Regions from separate parts of the Homo sapiens genome. Here regions 2 and 3 are each linked to region 1. The links are contacts of gene promoters, found by promoter capture Hi-C in blood cells and fetal thymus (Javierre and others, 2016). All regions are on one chromosome and are shown on one strand. The core of a region is centred on a gene start or on the middle of the fragment in contact, and the rest is flanking DNA. Distances in the headings are between cores, read along the strand shown. Region 1 holds the start of CNGB1 (cyclic nucleotide gated channel subunit beta 1). Region 2 overlaps KATNB1 (katanin regulatory subunit B1). Region 3 overlaps KIFC3 (kinesin family member C3).

What was found. Contacts are between HindIII fragments. The CHiCAGO score rates a contact against its expected background, and 5 or more counts as called.
Region 2: a contact is called between a fragment that was not itself captured here and the fragment with the promoter of CNGB1 in region 1, in 1 of 17 cell types (neutrophils). The highest score is 5.9, in neutrophils.
Region 3: a fragment that was not itself captured here is called in contact with the fragment with the promoter of CNGB1 in region 1 in 1 of 17 cell types (neutrophils); the score reaches 8.7 in neutrophils.

The regions. Positions count from the first base shown.
Region 1 is chr16:57,968,612-57,973,270 of GRCh38, forward strand. CNGB1 (cyclic nucleotide gated channel subunit beta 1) reads right to left here and starts at 2,517. Exons shown (of 33, transcript NM_001297.5): 1 at 2,449-2,517. The HindIII fragment of the contact is 12,254 bases long and covers 1-4,659 here.
Region 2 is chr16:57,749,006-57,753,664 of GRCh38, forward strand. It overlaps KATNB1 (katanin regulatory subunit B1), which reads left to right. Exons shown (of 20, transcript NM_005886.3): 5 at 1,822-1,922; 6 at 2,256-2,297; 7 at 2,636-2,719; 8 at 2,935-3,050; 9 at 3,525-3,596; 10 at 3,773-3,923; 11 at 4,072-4,262; 12 at 4,384-4,514. Among named protein-coding and RNA genes, the nearest start is that of KATNB1, 16 kb to the left of the region's middle. The HindIII fragment of the contact is 8,006 bases long and covers 1-4,659 here.
Region 3 is chr16:57,766,157-57,770,815 of GRCh38, forward strand. KIFC3 (kinesin family member C3) reads right to left here. Exons shown (of 20, transcript NM_001130100.2): 7 at 4,371-4,544; 8 at 3,652-3,799; 9 at 3,439-3,569; 10 at 718-829. Among named protein-coding and RNA genes, the nearest start is that of MIR6772, 3.9 kb to the right of the region's middle. The HindIII fragment of the contact is 3,756 bases long and covers 376-4,131 here.

The DNA.
Region 1 (4,659 bases), core at 1,267-3,766:
TGTGTAATATGCATGTACTACATAATCTCATTATAAGTAAAAATATTCATTATGAGTAATTACATGAGTGGAAAATCTGTCTTAAGATAAACTTAACCTATGTTCATCATTTTTTAATTTTTAAGATAAAATGGGCTGGGTGCAGAGGCTCATGCCTGTGATCCCAGCACTTTGGGAGGCCAAGATGGGAGGATCACTTGAGCTCAGGAGTTCGAGACCACTGTGGGCAACATATCAAGACCCTGTCTCTATTTAAAAAAAAAAAAAAAAAAAGCCTGTTATGGTGGTGTGCACCTGTAGTCCCAGCTACTCAGGAGGCTGAGGCAAGGGGTCGAGGCTTCAGTGATCATGCCACTGCACTTCTGCCTGGGTAACAAAGCAAGATCCTGTCTCAAAAAAAGAAAAAAAAATGGGCCTGTTGTGGTAGCTCACGCCTGTAATCCCAGCACTTTGGGAGGTGAAGGCAGGCAGATCACCAGAGGTCAGGAGTTCGAGATCAGCCTAGCCAACATGGTGAAACCCCATCTCCACTAAAAATACAAAAATTAGCTGGGTGTGGTGGTGTGCACTTGTAATCCCAGCTACTCCGGAGGCTGAGGTGGGAGAATCACTTGAACCCGGGAGGCAGAGGTTGCAGTGAGCCGAGATCGTGCCACTGCACTCCAGCCTGCCTGGGTGACAGAGCAAGACTCCTTCTCAAAAACAAACAGACAAACAAAAAGGCTGGGCATGGTGTGGCTCACACCTGCAATCCCAGCACTTCAGGAGGCTGAGGCAGGCAGATCGCTTGAGCTCAGGAGTTCGAGACCAGCCTGGGCAACATGATGAAACCCTGTCTCTACCAAAAATACAAAAAATTAGCCCAGCGTGGTGGCACGTGCCTGTAGTACCAGTTACTCGGGAGGCTGAGGCACGAGAATCACTGGAGCCCAAAAGGTGGAGATTGCACTCAGCCATTGCACTCCAGCCTGGTCGACAGAGTAAGACCCTGTCTCAAAACTGAAATAAAATGCTTATAGTGCTATATTTTAAAAAAAGAAAGAAAGAAAAAGATAAAATGCCAGGTAAGACTTTTTTCATGATATACTGTGTTATTTCAGTCCTACCTTAAGTACAGGTTGTTTCTGGTTGATTTCTCCTTGGGGAATGGGGAGCCCCAGCCCTTATGACTGAACCCCTGCAGGATGGCCTGGCCAGTGCGCAGCGTGCAGGTCAGTGTGTGCTAACTCCTAGCCCTAGATGTGTTCTTGCCCCACATGAGTGTGCCCCACCCCTCTCCCAGCCATGGGCAACCCGGGCTTTGGCAGAGAGTCTGTATGCCCCTTTCTGCCAGGGACCCTGGCCCCAGCTGAAGAGGGCAGCCCAGGCCCAGGATCCTTGCCCCCAAGCCCAGCTCCCCAGAGCCCACGGCTGTGCTGCCTGTCCTCTACTTACAGCCCTGACCTCTGTTCCCACTCTGGCATCAGCAGCCCAGCCTCTCCCACGAGAGGCTGTGGTGGGAACACAGCTCTAAGTGTCAGATCCCTGGCTCAGCCTCCCAAAAAATGAACTTGGGCCAGACATGACCCCTCTGGTCTTCCATTTCCCTGAAGGTGGGGGCACAGACACAATGTTTTCCCAGGTCGGGACTGCCAGAGCTCACATGTTGGGATAGCAGATTTCACTGACCCCAGCCAGCCCCAGGCAGCCCCGAGAGCCAGGGCTGAGCTAAGTGCATTCTACCCATGATCATACTCATCCTCGCTCTCACCACCACGCCCCGCCCAGCCCCTGCACTCAGTAAAATAAGAATTTTCATTATGTAGCACAGAAAGGTCAACAGAATCGCCTGAAGCAGCACAGCCGGCAGTGGCCAACTTGAGTTTACACTCAGGTCTGCCCGATTCCAGCTGCCCCACATGTATTCCCAGGTAGTCGTGGCATTTGCCGAGTGTTGGCCTCTTCCGCGGGCCAGGCCTGTAGACCCTTCCCAGCAGGCAGCAATTCTCGCTTGCATTTCTAAACCTTCTGGAAATGACTAAGGAAGCCTCCCCGATCCCCCATTTTTCTTTTTCCTCCTAAATGAGAATTTTTGCAGGTCCCTCCCATCTTTCACCCGTGTCCCTGCTGACTGCACTTTGATGAGGGAGGCTCAGGTGGGAAGGGGGACCCACGAGTGGCAGCTCGGGGAGCCATGGTGTTGCACCACCAGCATTTCCAGAGTCTTCTGGAGAGCTAGTGAAAATATAGATTCCTAGGTCCCCCAAGTCCTCCTGGGGGACCTAGGAATTTGCATTGTACAAGCTGTCCTGAAAATTCTGATGCCCGCTAAAGTCCAAGCTCCACCAGATAGAGGGAAGCCACAGGTTTCCCACCGTGCCAGTTTGGTCCTACCTAAATGCCTTTCTAGAGGGAGAACATGGGGATCCCCTCGGGGTCCCACCGAGCCTCCACCTCACCCTGAGTTACCTGCTTAGATGCCAACCGCCAGCCAGGAATTGCCTTCTTGCTGCCACTCGTAGCTGGCCCCTCAGACACAAGGAAGATTAATTGGCAGTAGCTGGGCCGTGTGCAAAGGATTAGCAGGTGCTGAATGGGGGAGGGGGAGAAAAGAGGCTGTTGATGCCCAGGAAACCAGCAGCACCTCCCAACTCCCAGGGTCCAGCAAGGATGTGGGCCCCAGGGAAGGGCTCCTGCATGGCCCAGGTTTGGAGCACCATGGGTTGCCAGGGGACCTGCCCGGCTTACCAGGGGCCTGGCTTCCCATACACCTTGGCCAAGACACGGAGTGGCTGATGGGAGAATAACAGCTTGGAGTTCCCATGTGATGCCTGGAGACTCCTCATGGTAGCAGGGGCTTGTCAGCTCCCACTCAGCGGTGGCAAGAGGTGTACCCCAACTCTCCAGCCCCCAGGCCAGGACGCAGGCAGGTTCTTTCTGGCTTAGAGTCTTCTCTGGGCAGGGTCTCAGCAGCCCTGCCTTGGGCTCTGCCAGAAAGGCTGTGTCCCAGGCCTGGGCCTTGAGGATGGATCCAAGACCCGGCAGATGACTGAGGCATCTGACCTGCCCTGTGAACTGAGGCTGGACACTTGAAGGGATACAGAGATCTAGGAGGAGAGGGTGCAAGGGACAGGGCCCAAGGAAGAGGGGCTCAGTGTGGTGGCCCTGAGGGATATTTGGCAAAGGGCAGGACTTGACTTAATTATCCGCACCATTTCTAGAGTTCTTCCTTTCCTTTCCTTTCCTTTTTTTTTTTTTTTTTTTAAGCCACAGTCTCTCTCTGTCACTCAGGCTAAGTGAAGTGGTGCAATCACAGCTCATTGCAGCCTCAACCTCTCAAACTCCTGGATGCAAGCAATCCTCCTGCCTCAGCCTCTCATAGTATTGGGATTACAGATGTAAGCCCCTGCACCTGGCCTAGAGCTCTTCCTTTGTGCCTGGCAGTGTGCCAGCCTTGGCACACTGAGCAAGACAGACATAGGCCCTGTCCTCATGGAGCTTACATTCCAATGGAGGAGATTACTGACAAATAAAGAATATTGCAAATTATGCTAAGTGCCATAAAAGAAACAAACAGGGCAGAAGCATGTTGTGGAGGGCAGTAGGGGCAGGTAGGCAGGCCCCTATGACGAGGTGGATGTATATTTGAACTGAGACATGAAAAGTAAGAAAGACTCAGCTGTGAAAAAAGCTGGGTGAGTGGTGCTCCAGGCCAAGGACACTGCAACGAGAAAGGTTCTGAGGCTGGAATGAGCCTTGAGGAGCAGAATGGGAACCGGGGAGCCTGGAGCTTAACGGGTGCAGGGGAGAGTGGTGGGAGATGAGGTTGACAGAGGGCAGGGGCAGATGTTGTGAGACTGTAAGCCACAGGAAGGAGTGTAGTTTTAGATGATGGTTTTGAACAGGGGCTGGGCATGATCTGTGTGGCTCTGTGTAGCAGGCAAGCATGGAAACAGGAAACTGGTCAGGAGGCTGCGGAGGGACAAGCTGATTGGTGACTGGATGACCCCTGGCTTCCCCTCCAGTGTTGGGCTTCAAGACCTCTGATAATGCAACCTCTACATGGCAAGTGATTCACAAGAAAGTTCTTTCTGCCAGCAAGGCCAGACCCCAACGGTAAAGCTCAATGTACTCCCTGACCCTTCCCTACAAATATGCCAGGCTGCAGGGGTCAGAGCTCCTCCCCAAGGAACAGCAGCAAGCCCTTCTGCTCTGCTTGGGCCTGAGACTAACACAGGTGACATTCGCCCTTGCCTGCAGCCTGACGGGAGGGATGATGGGGCTTGGACTATGCTGGTGGGAGTACAGATAGAAGGGAAAGGGGAGGAAAAAGGCGGGCATTGAGGGGCTCACCCTGGGAAACTGGGTAGCTGGTTTAGTGGGTGAACCAGTAAACCGCCCCAGGCTGGTTTACACATGTACTGAAAAGAAGAAGCCTGAGGCTGGAAGTTTGGAGGAAGAATTTTGGAGGGAAAATCATGAGCACTACTTTGTTAAGATGTCTGAGAGAGGCTGGGTGCAGTGGCTCACGCCTGTAATCCTAGCACTTTGGGAGGCCAAAGCAGGTGGATCACCTGAGGTCAGGAGTTCAAGACCAGCCTGGCCAACATGGCAAAACTCCGTCTCTACTAAAAATACAAAAATTAGTCGGGTGTGGTGGCAGGTGCCTATAATCCCAGC
Region 2 (4,659 bases), core at 1,784-4,283, 220 kb before region 1:
GAGTGACAGCTGCAGAGATTCTGGTGCAGGTGAATTGGATATGCATTCGACAGACTCCAGAGGGATGTGAAAGTATCCAGACCCAGCTCCAGCGCCAGACAGGGCCAGCTGCAGAGGGGCACTGAGGCCTGGGGAGGAGGAGAGAAGGCCCAGCTTGCGGGACAGCCAAGAGCAGAAGGCAGGCCTTGTGCAGGAAGAAATGTGAATGGGACTAATTAAGACTGGCATTTATTGAGCACTTACCATGTGCAGAGCCCGTGCTAAGCACTTTATGTATGTTTACTCCATTCTGTGACCCAACATGAGGCCCAAAGACAGTAAGTGATTGGCCAGGGTCACACCACCAGTGAGGAGCGGAGCCAAGGCTGATCCCAGTATTGTCTGATGCCAGAGCCCACATCCTGACTTTGGGGGTAGAGAAGATCATACAGTAGAGTTCATTTAATTCACCCAGTGCTTGGATCTTGACTCTGCAGTAAAGTGTTATATATGGAATCTTGAATACCTCCTCTGACAGAGAGCTCACTACCTCACAAGGTGACCTATTGCACCTTGGCTCAAAACTAAGAATGGCTGGACTCCCACATTTCCTGACCCTGGCACTTGGGATGGTCAGTTTCATTCAGATAGTGAATTATGAATCTTTCCAAAAGCAGGAAACATGAGACAAATCTGAGTGGTACTGGAGGACACCCTGAAACACACAAGGTTTGCCTCCAGGCTGGGCCGCTCCTGGCCATGGAGATGCCTGCAAAACCTTCAAGGAAAGGATAGGAGATGTGGTTCCTAGGGCAGTGGGAGGCGATCAGGCCCCACCCCAGGAGTTCTTTGGTCCTCGCGTGTCCTCCCTGTGTCCTCTCAGTTCTCACTGCTCCTCAGTGTGTCCTCACAGCCACCCTCAAGATCCCTTGGACAGAGGTCACCCAAGAAGACTGGTGTGTGCACCAGGGCCACCCCAGCCATGCCCTCCACTTGCCCTTCTTAGGGCCTTTGCCCATCACCTCCATCTACCTAACAGCATCCCTCATCCTCCACCCACTGACATCTACTCAAATACCACCTCCTCCATAAAGCCTTCCTGGATTTCTCTTTCCAACCAAGCAGCTTCTCTCCCAGCTTGAACCTCTCCTGGTCTGTCTCTCTCCTTGCACTGTCTTGGGTGGGGTTCAGTGCCCTGCAAACCATAAGCTCCACACCCATGGGGCCTGAACTGAGTGTGGTGGTTCCCTGGTTCTGCTTCCGCTGGAGCACAGTCTGTGGGGAGAGTGTGGTACAATTTCTGCAGACTTGAGGTAACATAGGGCTGTCACCTCTCAAGAGAAATGTGGGAAAATTAGTTGTTGGCAGGACGCAGTGGCTCACACCTGTAATACCAGCGCTTTGGGAGGCCAAGGCGGGTGGATCACTTGAGGTCAGGAGGCCAGCCCAGCCAACGTGGTGAAAACCTATCTCTACCAAAAATATAAAAAAATTAGCCGGGTGTGGTGGCACATGCTTGTAATCCCAGCTACCTGGGAGGCTGAGGCAGGAGAATTGCTTGAACCCGGGAGGCAGAGGTTGCAGTGAGCCGAGATCACGCCATTGCATTCCAGCCTGGGCGACAGAGCAAGACTCCTTTTCAAAAAAAAGGAAGAAAAGAAAATTCGTTGTTAGGGTGGTGGGACCCTTGATTGTTTCCTACTGTTTTAAAAATGTGTGTTATTGTTCTATTTTTCTGTGCAGCTAATCCAAAAGCGCACACACAAATGCCCACAGCAGCCCTTCCTCTGCCAGCCTTCTCATTTGCCTCTTAGCCACTGTCTCTGCTTTCCTTCTTGTTAGTTCTTCGCACACTCATGGGACACAAAGCCAACATCTGCAGCCTGGATTTCCACCCGTACGGCGAGTTTGTAGCCTCTGGTTCCCAGGACACAAACATCAAGGTGAGAGGCCGGTCCGTGCCCCGTGTCTCCTGCTGGGCCTGTGGCAGGACCAGCCCGGCCCGGCCCTCAGTGCTGGATGCCTGCTGAGGGGACCTCTTCCCTTTCTGCAGCCACATCCACACCATCCTAGGGAAAGCGGGTGGCAGGCATCTATCTGCCAGATGCTTCTGCTCAGAATGCCAGCTTTAGTGAGCAGTTTCTGTCCTTGTCTCCGTGGGGAGTAACGACCTAGAGAAGGCTGGGCCCCACCGTCTGCTCACGACTGCACACCTTCCTCCAGTCGTGGCTCTGACCTCTCCTGACTCTGCCCCTCTGCTTCTCTCTCCCCCACAGCTCTGGGACATCAGGAGGAAAGGCTGTGTCTTCCGATACAGGGTAAGGATGCGCTCTGTCGGTGACTCCATGAGCACCTTGCGGGCATTGAGTGTGGTGTGGTGCCCAGACCCCAGCAGGGGGTGGAGGGGACGGCTGTCCCACATGGGTGATAACATAAAACATAGACCTGGAGCTGAGCAGGAGCGCCATGGGCGGCCCACCTGGATCCCCTGGCTCTGCATGAATCCCCTAGAGCCACGTTCATCAAACTGCTCCAAGCAGAACCAGGCGGGTAACCAGTGTTGTTAGATGGAAGGGGTCCCATAGGAGTGAGGAGGCAGGGAGAGGTCTGTTGGGCCCAGGATCCCAGGGTGAGCTCATGCCGTGTCCTCCCTCAGGGGCACAGCCAGGCCGTGCGGTGTCTCCGGTTCAGCCCCGATGGGAAGTGGTTGGCGTCGGCCGCAGATGACCACACCGTGAAGGTAGCTCCCGGCCTGACCTGGGCCCAGGGGCTGGGGGCTGGGGTCTGCTGATCACAGCAGGCTGAGTCCTCACCTCCCTCCTGATCGGGCTCACATGTCCCAAGCCTATCCCGAGTGGAAGGTAGCTTGTGGATAAAGAGCTTGGCCTGGATTAGAGGGAGGGTGGGCAGCCAAGATGCCTGGTCACCCTGACCTCCTCCCTGCCCTGCCTCCAGCTCTGGGATCTCACTGCCGGCAAGATGATGTCTGAGTTCCCTGGTCACACGGGGCCTGTCAACGTGGTCGAGTTTCACCCCAACGAGTACCTCCTGGCCTCCGGCAGCTCTGACAGGTGAGGAGGAGGAGCGAGGCGAGTTGCTTGTGACTGCTGTCCTTCACCGCCTTGTCCTCTGTGCGTGTCTCTACTGCCGGTCTGTCGCTGTCTGGGGTGTCATACGTCTGATGATCCTGTGTGGACTGAATTGGATTTCAGCCGAGCCAGGACTGGACCCTGGTCCATCTCCCCTGGCTCTGGTTCCCTGGCCCCAGTGTCCCAGGTCTGTGGCTTCATGGGCAGGTTGGGACCCAAGGCATCTAGTGGGACCCCATAGGGCAGGGAGGCTCGTGGCTGTTGGGGCCAACCCTGGGGCCAGGGCCATCGGGCCGAGCCTCCCCCTTGCAAAGTCAGGGCCAGCTCTGCCCCAGATGTTGCTCCTGGTGGCCCTGCCCTGGGGGAGAGGTTTCTAGAGAAAAGCTGGCTTCCCAGGGACATGTGGAGGCCAGGATGAGGGATAGGCTTCGCAGCACAGCTTGGCTGCCTTTGCAGGACAATCCGCTTCTGGGACCTGGAGAAGTTCCAGGTGGTGAGCTGCATCGAAGGGGAGCCTGGGCCCGTCAGGTACGCAGGCTGTGGGGTGGGCGGCCCAGCGCTCCTCCCGGCAGTGGGGCGTGGCTGTGGGTGGGCCTTTCCCATCTCCGCTGCTGCGCCCTCCCTGCCCTGGGCCCTCTGGATTCCTCGGGGTGGGGACCAGGCTGGGTGCCACAGGACCCACGGCCATCTCTCGCCTGGCCCAGGAGCGTCCTCTTCAACCCAGACGGCTGCTGCCTGTACAGCGGCTGCCAGGACTCACTGCGTGTCTACGGCTGGGAACCTGAGCGGTGCTTTGATGTGGTCCTCGTCAACTGGGGCAAGGTGGCCGACCTGGCCATCTGCAATGACCAGTTGGTGAGAGAGCCATGGCACCCACCGCCCCCCACTCCCACAGGGCCACCCGCCTCCCTCCAGCCCAGGCCCCTCCTCCTACCCCCACACTGGGGCTGGGATTTTGCCCCCTCGGCTTGCAGTCCCAGCCCCACCTCTCCGCTTTCTGCAGATAGGTGTGGCCTTCTCCCAGAGCAACGTCTCCTCCTACGTGGTGGATCTGACGCGTGTCACCAGGACTGGCACGGTGGCCCGGGACCCTGTGCAGGACCACCGGCCCCTGGCACAGCCACTGCCCAACCCCAGCGCCCCCCTCCGGCGCATCTATGAGCGGCCCAGCACAACCTGCAGCAAGCCTCAGAGGTGAGGGCCTGGGGGGCCTTCGGGGGCCCAGGAGAGGGACTGTCACAGGGGAAGCCTCGGAGTTCCAGCCCTGGGCCTCACAGGGCACCTGCTTCCGTTGGGCTTGGCCTCACGCTCCCAGGGTGAAGCAGAACTCAGAGAGCGAGCGCCGCAGCCCCAGCAGCGAGGATGACCGGGACGAGCGCGAGTCCCGCGCGGAGATCCAGAACGCCGAGGACTACAACGAGATCTTCCAGCCCAAGAACAGCATCAGTGAGGCCGGGCTCCCGCCCCCAGCCCAGCGTCCCCATCGGTGAAAGGGAGGCTGGGGGTCCTTCCAGGGTAGCCTGCTGTGGCTCCGCATCCCTTTAACTTCCTCCTAACCCACACCTGGGCTCCGTATCCTGTCCTCACGTTC
Region 3 (4,659 bases), core at 1,004-3,503, 200 kb before region 1:
CCGCCATCTACTTCCAGCCTTTGTTGGGATCCCTGTGCTCTTGGAATGAAGAGGAAACACCCCCCACTGCCAGCATGGCCCACCTGCCCTCCCTTTTCACCCATCCGTTCCAGCTCACTGTCCAGGTCTCAGCTCTAACTTTGCCTTCTCTGGGAAGCCCCTCAACACACTTGCCTGTCCCATACCCAGGAAAGCCTGTCTCAGCCCTGGAAGGGGGCAGGGTTGGGGTTCCCTGACAATCATCATTGTTGATTCTCACACTAAAGTGTGCACCGGGAGGCAGTCTGTGGGGCCACGACCATAGCCTCGGGCTGGAACGGCACCTGGCACAGAGCAGGCACTCTAGAGCTCCATGCAGTGAATGGTGGAGTCTCAAGCTTGACCAGGCCCCAGGTCAGAATAAGCGGCTTTCCAGCTGCCACCAACCCAATGCTGCAACACCACACCCCTCGGCTACCCAGGGCCTGGGGAGTCACCTGCCCAGGCACTGGGGCCAGGGCTTCTGAGCTGGACAGACTCAAGTTCAAATCCAAGGCAGACCATTTAATATCCATGTGGCTTTGAGCAAGTTCCCTGCCTTCTCTGTGCCTCTGTTTCCTTATCTACAGAGATAGGATTAGAATAGTGCCTCAATGGTGGGGTGAGCTCCAAGCATGACTGCCAAGCCAGGTCGAGGACCCCGAGGCCAGCGCCCACCCCCAGCCCTCCTGCAGTCACCTTTCAGCCGCACGAGCTCATTGTGGCACTTCTTACGCAGCTGCAGCTCGCGGCGGTACTTGCGCAGCAGCTCCTGGTTGTTGCTGTTGACCTCCTCGATGGCCTGGCCTATCTGGTGGGGGGTGCACACCACTGTCAGGGGGACGGCTCCATCAGCCTTACCGGCCTGACTGCCCACCCCTGAGGGGTGCTCACTGCCTCCTGCCCCTGGCTGAGTACCTGACACACGCTGTCACATGTCAGACTGTCCCAATCACCCCTCTGGGTAGGTACTGCTACCATCCCCATTTTACAGATGATGAAACTGAGCCGCAGACACTAAGCTGACAGCTTGAGGCTGCTCTGCTAATAAGCATAGAGCCAGGACTCAGCCCTCCACACCACAGCACTAGTGCTTGACTATGTGATTCAGCCAGACTCAAATTCCAACTCTGCCCCTGAGTAGCTGGGGACCTGAGACCACTGGCTCAATGTCTTTAAGCCTCAATTTTCTCATCTGGAAAGCAGGGATAATACCATCTAACTCATGAATCTGTAAAGATCTCCCAGTTACATTTCACAGGTAGAAAAAAGATGCAAAATCACACATACAGTATCACACTGTACACAAATCACACATCCCCTTTCTGGAGTAGAAGGGAAGTGTATACAGTGTATACAGTCTTCCCTTAGTAACCGTGGAGGATACAAAAATCCACAGATGCTCAAGCCCCTGATATAAAATGATATAGTGTTTGCCTATAACCTACACACATCCTCCCATATACTTTATTTTTTTTGAGACAGGGTCTTGCTCTGTTGCCCAGGCTGGAAGTGCAATCACAGCTCCATGGATGTGGTGGAAACTCATTGTGAGTGGTGTTATCTTGGCTCACTGCAGCCTTGACCTCCCAGACCCAAGCAATCCTCCCACCTCAGCCTCCCGAGTAGCTGGGACTACAGGTGCAGGCAACCACACTCAGCTAGTTTTTTTATATTTTTTTGTAGAGATGGGGTCCCACTATGTTGCCGAAGCTGGTCTTGAACTCCTGGGCTCAAGTGCTCCTCCTGCCTCAGCCTCCCAAAGTGTTGGGATTACAGGTGTGAGCCACTGTGCCCAGCCCCTCCCATGTACTTTAAATCATCTCCAGGTTACTTATAATATCTAATACAATGAAAATGCTGGGTAGGGGCTGGGTGCAGTGGCTCATGCCGGTAATGCCAGCACTTTGGGAGGCGGAGGTGGGCGGATCACCTGAGGTCAGGAGTTCAAAACCAGCCTGGCCAACATGGTGAAGCCCAGCCTCTATTAAAAATACAAAACAAACAAACAAACAAACAAAACTAGCCCGGCATGGTGGCACACGCCTGTAATCCCAGCTATCCAGGAGGCTGAGGCAGGAGGGTCGCTTGAACCCGGGAGGTGGGGGTTGCAGTAAGCTGAGATCCCGCCATTGCACTCCAGCCTGGGCAACAAGAGTGAAACACTGTCTCAAAAACAAAAAAATGCTGTGTAAATAGTTGTTATATGTTATTTTTTATTTCTATTATTTCTAATTGTTGTACTGTTAATTTTTTTCAACTATTTTTGATCTGTGGTTGTTTGAATCTGGGAATGCAGAACCTGTGGATGGGGGAAGGGCCTACCATATATTCTCACACACACACACACACACACACACACGCACAATTGGCTTAAGCATGCTCAGAACAGTCGGGGGAAATGCTGAGAGGCCACATTGGAAGAGTTGGGTGGGTGGCAGAGAGGCCTTTCCTATTCACCTGATGCCCTGCTATGGAGTTTGACTTTTCACCACGTCCATGTATTACTGATATAGTCTTTTAAAGGAGAAGAACTATATTCTGTTCCCAAAATATATTAGTCTTTGCAAAGCTATCATACAAATTCAAGGAGCTAACGGCTATAAACAGCTCGACATGTAGGAGGCACTTAAGAGGCACTGGTTATTCTCATATGTACAAGTACAGCTTGAAAGAATTAAGTTAAACCTAACAGAGGTAAGACTGTATCGGCCAGTCATGGTGGCTCACACCAATAATCTCAGCACTGCGGGAGGCCAAGGCAGGAGGACTGCTTGAAGCCAGGAGTTCAAGACCAGCCTCGGCAACATAATGAACCCTGTCTCTAATAAATAATTTTTTTAAAAAATACGTATGTAGCATGTTTTTTGTTTGTTTTTGAGATAAAGTCTCGCTGTCACACAGGCTGAAGTGCAGTGGCATGATCTTGGTTCACCGCAACCTCCGCCTTCTGGGTTCAAGTGATTCTCCTGCCTCAGCCTCCCGAGTAGCTGGAATTAACAGGCACCTGCCACCCATGCCCAGCTAATTTTTGTAATTTTAGTAGAGACGAAGTTTCGCCTTGTTGGCCAGGCTGGTCTCAAACTCCTGACCTCAAGTGATCCGCCTGCCTCGGCCTCCCAAAGTGTTGGAATTACAGGTGTGAGCCACCGCGCCTGGCCTGCATGTTTGAAATATGAAGTTATCTGTAACATGTTTGGTTTAAAGAATCATAGTAAGACAAATAGCCGAATGCCTGCCCTGAGCAGTCTAGTTTCAAACAGGGCCTATAAGGGCAGCAGTAAGTGTCATGGGGGGTGGGGCAGGGGCTGCTGTCTGAGCGGCTTTGTCTGAGCTTTGGAGGGACGCCCTGAGTGGATGTCGTGCCTCTCCCAGTGCACCCCCTTAGCCTGGACCCTCCCACCCACTGCCCTCGCTCACCTCGGCCTTGACACTCCTGAGGGCCTCCTGCAGCAGCAGTGGGAAGCCGCGCACCTGCCGCTTGAGCCCATTGTAGTCGTTGGTGAGGGTCCGCAGTGCCGGCTGCAAGGTCAGCAAGTTGGTCCGGACGCCTATGGGGACACTCGGGCTGTGAGGCGGGAGGGGATGAGGGGCCGCGGCGTGGGGCAGACAGGGCCCAGCTGGTCAGCTCACCTGCTAGATTCTCGTGCACAGCCTTCATCTCCACCTGGGCTCTGGCAAAGGCCTCCTCAATGGCCCGGTTCTTGTCCTCTTCCAGGGACTGCATCTCCTCCAGCATCTGCCCATGGGCCCGCTCCAGCTCTGACTCGTACATGGCAATCTGGCCAGACCAGGAAAAGGCTCAGTACCTCGAGGTGCGGGAGAGAGAGGGGCAGGTGCCACACCGAGAAAGAAACTGGTCACCTCCCATGCACATGAACACACATGCACACACACATGTGCACACCCAGAGGGGCAGAATGGCCTTGTCTCCCTCCCCCTACAGGGCTGTGAGCTCTGGGCATTGGCTCCAACACCAACCCAGTGCTGAGCACACATCAGGTGCCCAAGCCACGTGCCCTCAGGAAGGTAGGAGAGGGCCTCTGTGATGACAGTGACAAGTGCCATGTAGAGCTTACTGAGCACAGCCTGTGTGCTGGGCCGTGGGCACAAAGCTTCTTGGGATGACGTTCCTGAGTCCCCACTGTGAGGTGGGTTCTGGGACCAGATCGTGTTATAATAGATGAGGAAAAGGAAACCAGACAAAACTTGCCCTGGGTCCCGTGGCCATCGGGGAGAGGAGGGACTGGACCCCGTGTCTGTGGGGTACCCAAATGTTTAACCGATGCATTGGCCCAAGGGCCTGCCTCTGGCTTCCTGGCTGGGCATGTGCCCCCACACAGCCTGGGTACCTGCGCCCGGAGCCGCGCGGTCAGCTGGTGTGAGCTCTGCAGCTGCTGTTCCATCTCCTTCAGCACCTGCCTCTGCATAGCCACCTGCTCCTGCAGGTGCTGGTTCCGGGCCTGGGACTCGCTGAGGGCCTGCTTGGTCTTGGACGACTCCACCTCCACTGTCTTGATGACATACTGCAGGGTGAGGGAGGAATGGCACGTGGAGCCAGCGGGCACCGTACCTCACCCAAGAGCCTGAGACGCAGCAGGCCAGGGGAAGGAACTCTCGGGAACATCCCACTCAGAAACC